2 separate regions of the Homo sapiens genome follow, and region 1 is linked to region 2. Evidence: promoter capture Hi-C in human tissues and cell types (Jung and others, 2019). All regions are on one chromosome and are shown on one strand. Each heading gives the region's core, a stretch centred on a gene start or on the middle of the fragment in contact. The rest is flanking DNA. Distances are from core to core; before and after follow the strand shown. Region 1 overlaps CYBRD1 (cytochrome b reductase 1). Region 2 holds the start of DLX2 (distal-less homeobox 2).

Evidence for each region. Contacts are between HindIII fragments. The study calls those that stand out against the background at their distance.
Region 1: a contact is called between a fragment that was not itself captured here and the fragment with the promoter of DLX2 in region 2, in 1 of the 25 tissues and cell types used here (lymphoblastoid cells).

Annotation. Positions count from the first base shown.
Region 1 is chr2:171,535,638-171,539,527 of GRCh38, reverse strand. All of the region lies in intron 1 of CYBRD1 (cytochrome b reductase 1), which reads right to left. Among named protein-coding and RNA genes, the nearest start is that of CYBRD1, 15 kb to the right of the region's middle. The HindIII fragment of the contact is 4,986 bases long and covers 1-3,890 here.
Region 2 is chr2:172,100,777-172,104,155 of GRCh38, reverse strand. DLX2 (distal-less homeobox 2) reads left to right here and starts at 1,256. Exons shown (of 3, transcript NM_004405.4): 1 at 1,256-2,017; 2 at 2,510-2,694; 3 at 3,212-3,379. The coding sequence starts at 1,618. It overlaps DLX2-DT (DLX2 divergent transcript), which reads right to left and starts at 1,150. Exons shown (of 5, transcript NR_126376.1): 1 at 888-1,150; 2 at 124-218. RefSeq lists a silencer at 1,255-1,454. The HindIII fragment of the contact is 12,259 bases long and covers 1-3,379 here.

The DNA of each region.
Region 1 (3,890 bases), core at 822-3,321, 570 kb after region 2:
CAGACGATGGATTCCACTATATCAGCAGGGTATCACGTATATTTCTTTTCTTTTCTTTCTCTGTCACCCAGGCTGGAATGTAGTGTTGCGATCACAGCTCACTGCAGCCTTGACCTCCTGGGACCAGGTGATCCTCCCACCTCAGTCTCCTGAGTAGCTGGGGCTGCAGGCATGCACCACCACACGCTGCTATTTTTTCTATTTTTAGCAGAGATGGGATTCCATCATGTTGCCCAGGCTGGTCTTGAACTCCTGGGCTCAAGTGCACCACCCGCCTCAGCATCCCAAAGTGCTGGGATTACAGGCATGAACTACAGTGCCTGGCCTCATGTACATTTCTTAATTCCAGAAAATAAAAAGGAGCCTCACTTCACCAAAGGCTTTTATAATTTTAATATATAAAACTTCAGGCCAGGCGCAGTGGCTCACTGCGCTCAGTGAGCCACTCGGTGCTGTAATTTCAGCACTTTGGGAGGCCAAGGCAGGTGGATCACCTGAGGTCAGGAGTTCGAGACAAGCCTGGCCAACATAATGAAGCCCAGTCTCTACTAAAGATACAGAAATTAGCCGGGCGTGGTGGTAGGCACCTGTAATCCCAGCTACTTGGGAGGCTGAGGCAGGAGAATCGCTTGAACTCGGGAGGCGGAGGTTGCAGTAAACCAAGACCGCACCATTGCACTCCAGCCTGGGCAACAGAATGAGACTCTGTCTCAAAAAACAAACAAACAAACACCCAAGAACTTCATAGGATTATAAAAATATAAGGGATTATCTATTCCTTTTTCAGACAGAAACACATCTAAACCTACAAAGACCGATGTGAATTCAGCCTCTTTAAAGCTTTCAGCACAGGATGTCATTTTTCCTATTCTTTGGTTCCATTCTAACACTTAACAGTCCTCACCATTAGGACAATATTTCTTTTACTTAATCCCAACCCTGAAGGACTGCTACTTACTAAATTTAGTGTGTATATGGGTATCCTATGAATGTCGATTGGTTATACTTCCTTGAGAACGTGGAGACTTTTTGGATAATCATTTCTATATTCAAGGAATCTTTTCAAATGATTTAATGCAATACCTTAAAAAGTACACTTTTAAAGCAAACTCAAGGCCCCCTCTCACCCCTACTTCATCTTCTCTGAGGGCGTTAATGTGTCTTGCTGGTTCTCCACTGTATCCCCAGAGCCTAAGGCAGCCCTGGACTCAAAGCATGTAGCTCCTCCATAAGTATTTTTTAAATCTCTGTATTTTTCTTTTTGAGATGGAGTTTCATTCTTGGTTGCCCAGGATGGAGTGCAATGGTGCGATCTCAGCTCACTGCAACCTCGACTTCCTGGGTTCAAGAGATTCTCCTGCCTCAGCCTCCTGAGTAGCTGGGAATACGCGCCCAGCTAATTTTTGTATTTTTAGTAGAGACGGAGTTTTGCCATGTTGACCAGGCTGATCTTGAACTCCTGACCTCAGGTGATCCGCCCACCCTGGCCTCCCAAAGTGCTGGGATTACAGGTGTGAGCCACTGTGCCTGGCCTAAAATTTTAACTTGACATATAATAATTGTACATATTTATGCGGTACATAGTAATGTTTCAAAACATACAATGTATAGTGATCAGATCAAGGTAATTAGCATATTTATCACCTCAAACTCTTTTCTTTTTGTTGAAAACATTCAATATCCTCTCTTTTAGCTACTTGAAAGCATATAGCATATTATTGTTAACTCTAGTCGTCCTACAGTGCTATATAGAACACTAGAACTTATTTTTTAAACTATTTTGAGATTATCATAGATTCACAAGCAGTTGTAAGAAACAGTACAGAGAAATCTCATATACTCTTCACCCAGTTTTCTCTAACACCTTATATAACTATGGTACCATAGCACAACCAGGAAATTGACATTGATACAATCCTCTGACCTTATTCAGGTTTTTTTAAAATTTACTTATTTTTTATTTTTTTCTCTCCCTCCTCCTCCATCCCTTATTCAGATTTCACTAGGTTACTTGTGTGTATGTGTGACCCATAAGTATTGTTTAAATAAACAAACACAAAGCACTTTCTACAGACTGATCAAATCTGGAAACTAAATTGATGTCAACTCAAACACTGTGGTTTCCCCTCCTCATGCTTTTTCTCCTCTAAGCAGACCCTACATAATTCTTTAGTTTCCTGGGAAAGCAAATGCCTCTTTACCCAATGACCTAGTGAACTTTTATCTACAAAGTGGAGCCTTCTGCAATCTGTGTGTGATCACGCAATAGTAAAATAAAAATGTGCGATATATGAAGACCTAATAACACATCTCCCCCTTGCCTGTGTTGGGCTCATTTATTACACACACACGCACACATACACAGACACACAAACACACACACACAATTGAGTCCTTGCTAGGTAGTAGGTACCATCTAAGTGCTTCACAGTTTCATTATAATTCTCACCTCAACTCTGTGAAGATAGAATTATTATTACTATTGTACAGAGGAAGCTGAGGCAGAGAGGTTAAGTAGTTTGTCCCTCCTCAATTCATGGTTTAAAATTAATATTGTTGTTTTTTTGTTATCATCATCACCATCACATTATGCAAACACCACTCCGGGTAAGGAGTCTTAGATGAGTGAACTTGAACATCTACATACAGAAAAAAAAAATACTCAGGATTTCAACACTCGAAAAGCAAATTATGAACAATGAACCACAGTAGCATTTTCTCCCCAATCTGGATCATATTATATCAAAAATTCCCAAAATAAAAACTCATCTCTGATATTAAAAGTCAAGAGTAGGCTGGGCGCAGTAGCTCACACTTGTAATCCCAGCACTTTGGGAGGCTGAGGCAGGCAGATCATTTGAGGTCAGGAGTTCAAGACTAGCATGGCCAACATGGTGAAACTCTGTCTCTGCTAAAAATACAGGCTGGGCGTGGTGGCTCATGCCTGTAATCCCAGCACTTTGGGAGGCCAAGGCGGGTGGGTCACTTGAAGTCAGGAGTTTGAGACCAGCCTGGCCAACATGGTGAAACCCCGTCTCCACTAAAAACACAAAAATCAGCTGGGCATGGTGGTGCATGTCTGTAATCCCAGCTGCTTGGGAGGCTTGAGGCAGGAGGATCGCTTGAACCCGGGAGGCGGAGGTTGCAGCGAGCAGAGATAATACCACTGCACTCCAGCCTGGGCAACAGAACCAGACTCTGTCTCAAAAAAACCCAAAAAATTAGCTGGGCATGGTAGCATGTGCTTATAATCCCAGCTACTTGGGGAGACCGAGGCAAGAGAATCGCTTGAACCCGAGAGGCAGAGGTTGAGGTAAGCTGAGATCGCACCATTGCACTCCACCCTGCCTGGGTGACACAGCAAGACACTGTCTCAAAAAAAAAAAAAAAAAAAGAGTAACTATCATGATATCATGACTCAAAGGAGTTACAAGGGTTGCTGGGGGGGTTCTGATGTGCACAGAATATTGCTTCTTGTTCTGGGTACCCGGATGTGTGCATGTGATAAACACACATCCCTTCCGATTTAGGTACTTTTATGCATGTATGTTGTTCTTCAGTAAAAAGTTTACTTTTAGAAAGTGTGGGGGCCAGGCACAGCGGCTCATGCTTGTAATCCCAGCACTTTGGGAAGTCAAAGTGGGTAGACTGCTTGAGCCCAGGAGTTCAAGACCAGCTTGGGCAACCCAGTGAAACCTCATCTCTACAAAGAAATACAAAAATAAACCACACCTGGCAGTGTGTGCCTATAGTCCCAGCTACTCAGCAGGCTGAGGCAGGAGGATTGCTTGAGCCCAGGAGGTGGAGGTTGTAGTGAGCTGAGATCGAGCCACTGCACTCCAGCCTGGACAACAGAGCAAGACTCTGTCTCAAAAATAAATAAATAAAGC
Region 2 (3,379 bases), core at 7-2,506:
GCGCACTAGCACAATTTTGTGGCTTTTAATTACTATTTTGTTCTTTTGGGGGGTTTCAGAGGCTGGCGCCTGGGCGTGATTAGACCGTCTACCCCGCCCCCCGCAACCTCGCACACTGCCCACCAGGTGGCGCCACAAAGCAAGCGCTGCCGCAGGAACTTCGGACTTGGGAGTCCAGCAAGTCGTGCAGTCCATCACCGTCGGGCCAAGGTTTCCAACTACAAGGTTATAGAGACAGAGGAAGTCACCATTTCCGATTTTTTAAAAAACAGAGGGAAAAGAAAAAAATTGCAATGATAGGGTAGAACAGGGTCCTAAAATGCAAAACTGTAAAACAGGATTAAATTCAACAAACCAGATAAAACTTTTTATATTTGTTGTAAATTTACAGAGAAGTGATAAATCTAGTATCTACTTGATAAATCTATAATCTCACCTATTATCCTATTTCCTTTTTCGCAAGAGCATCGAATTTTCAAGGACAACTGGTGAACCTTTCCACCCGAAGGAGGAAGTCCTCGGGATGGCTTTCAGGGTGTCATTTACTTATCAAACGTATATAATTACTCAGAGTCTCGCGTGTCGGGAAAGTACCAGGGAAAGTGGTTTCAAATATACTATTAGCAATAATACCTTTAAGTTTATGTAGCTTCTCTTTGAAGCAACAAGGAAAACCCGTTTCAATATTATATGATTAATTGTCCTAATATCCCTGCGGATTGGTTAAGAAGCGAGCATTACACGTGGTTTGTGGATAATTAAATCAATTGATTATGTCAAGTGCCGAGTGGCTAACAAGAATAAATGCCAGACACTTCGAGGAAAAGTGAAGATAGAGCTGGCTGGACTCTGGGCACCGATGTACTTTAATGTGTTTGAAAACTGACCTCGGACATGAAAGTACGAATCACTGGAACTGGCACTTGCTCACAGAATGGGAGAGGGGACCCCACTTCTTCCTCTGAGGCAAAACGCCAGTCTGTCTCCACGCCTTCTGTCTTCCTGCTGCGGGCCACCCTGACTCCTCGCTACCTCGACCCCTCGCCTCGCTGCTCACATTCGGCGGCAGTCTGTTTGCACCTGGGGCCGCTGCAGCCGCAGCCGCAGCCACAGCGCCCACCATGTGACGCCCGCCCCTTGGCCGGGCGTTCCCGGAGCTCCGCGGCCGTTTGCTTCTGATTGGCTGTTGCTAGGTGACGTCGCCAGCGCTCACGTGACGAGTGTTAAATGCCCACACTTCAGGAGCCCGCCTGGCAGACAATCGTAAAGCCGCTCGGGGCCGCTCACCTGCTCCCGCCTCCCAGAGCCCCGACCCGGCCCAGCCACCCCTGCCCCCTCCACTGCCCGCCCCCCGCCAGAGCCCGCGCTCGCGCTGGGCAAGGAGCCGAGCGGGCCCAGAGGCCGAAAGAGGATGCGACCAGAGGCAGCTGTCCCGAGCAGCGCACGGTGATCGCCTCCCCCGGAGGAGGAGGCGCCTAGACGGTTGCCTCCTTTCTTGTTTCCCCACCACCACCCCCGTAATTACATTGGCTGCTGGAGGGGACCGGGAGAGACAGAGGAGGCGCCTGGCTTCCCCCGCACGCCCGCCACCTCTGCTCTTTCCCGTCTCGGGCCAGGATGACTGGAGTCTTTGACAGTCTAGTGGCTGATATGCACTCGACCCAGATCGCCGCCTCCAGCACGTACCACCAGCACCAGCAGCCCCCGAGCGGCGGCGGCGCCGGCCCGGGTGGCAACAGCAGCAGCAGCAGCAGCCTCCACAAGCCCCAGGAGTCGCCCACCCTTCCGGTGTCCACCGCCACCGACAGCAGCTACTACACCAACCAGCAGCACCCGGCGGGCGGCGGCGGCGGCGGGGGCTCGCCCTACGCGCACATGGGTTCCTACCAGTACCAAGCCAGCGGCCTCAACAACGTCCCTTACTCCGCCAAGAGCAGCTATGACCTGGGCTACACCGCCGCCTACACCTCCTACGCTCCCTATGGAACCAGTTCGTCCCCAGCCAACAACGAGCCTGGTATGCATAACGCTGAAGTCAAGAGTGCCGAGTCGGTCTAGTTAATGGGATGGATGGGTAAACGTGTTTGGGGCGGGGGGCCTTCGAAAGCTCTGGATTTTCACGCTGCCTGCTCACCGCCCGCTTGTGCCCTTTACCCTCCCCAGCCTCCAATCTGCCGCAGGTCGCCGGTTACGTCCCTCTCTCCTTTGGTAGGACCTGGTGGCCTCAAGAGCCAAGTGGGCGTGCTCTGCCTGCCTCATAAGGGCATCTCCTTGCCACCAGCTTCTTTCTCTTGGGTGTGCACTTGTCTCCCCCTTCCCTGGAGGGTACAGCTCCCGGGGTCGGTGGCGGCTCCGATCGCACGCTGCGAAGTTGCGCCTGCCCGTGGCGCCACAGTTCAGTGCACCCACCTCTTTGCTCAAGCCAAGTCCCCCCCGCCGGGCCCTCTAGGAGGGCGGGAACTCCAGGACCCCTGGGTTGCGCTGTTCTTACGATTCTTTATCGTTGCAGAGAAGGAGGACCTTGAGCCTGAAATTCGGATAGTGAACGGGAAGCCAAAGAAAGTCCGGAAACCCCGCACCATCTACTCCAGTTTCCAGCTGGCGGCTCTTCAGCGGCGTTTCCAAAAGACTCAATACTTGGCCTTGCCGGAGCGAGCCGAGCTGGCGGCCTCTCTGGGCCTCACCCAGACTCAGGTGGGGCTCGCGCCCTGCAGGGGCGAGGAGAGCGCGGGCCTGAGATGGCTGGGAAGCAGGCGGGTTTAGGACAATGCTTTTTAAAGTTCATTTTAAGTACTTTTAAGGATTTCCAGGCCTGCGCCTCGAGCGGCCCTAAGTAAGCTTCTAGGCCCAAAGCTGGAAACCCCCAAGGGGCCGCCGTGGGAGGGAAGGAAAGGGACCGGGTGGACAGAAATCCCGTACCTCTCGCTACTGATTAAGCGGGTGAAATAACTGGCCCTCCTCACCCTCCCGCTGTCACCATCATCACAGTGCACGTACACCAGCAGTCCTGGCCTTTTGGCAATTACCTCCCCAGGGAGCAGGAACCGGCAGAGCCTCGAAGGCCGCCGCCCGTGATCCTCTTATCTCCCCAGGGCGCTCGCTGCCCACCGCTAGCCAGCGGTTTTTCTCTGCCTTCTTTTTTCTCCTCTTCGAACCCCTACTGCCCCAAGACTAGGTTCCTCCACTAATGCTCAGGTCTTTTTCCTCAAAGGTCAAAATCTGGTTCCAGAACCGCCGGTCCAAGTTCAAGAAGATGTGGAAAAGTGGTGAGATCCCCTCGGAGCAGCACCCTGGGGCCAGCGCTTCTCCACCTTGTGCTTCGCCGCCAGTCTCAGCGCCGGCCTCCTGGGACTTTGGTGTGCCGCAGCGGATGGCGGGC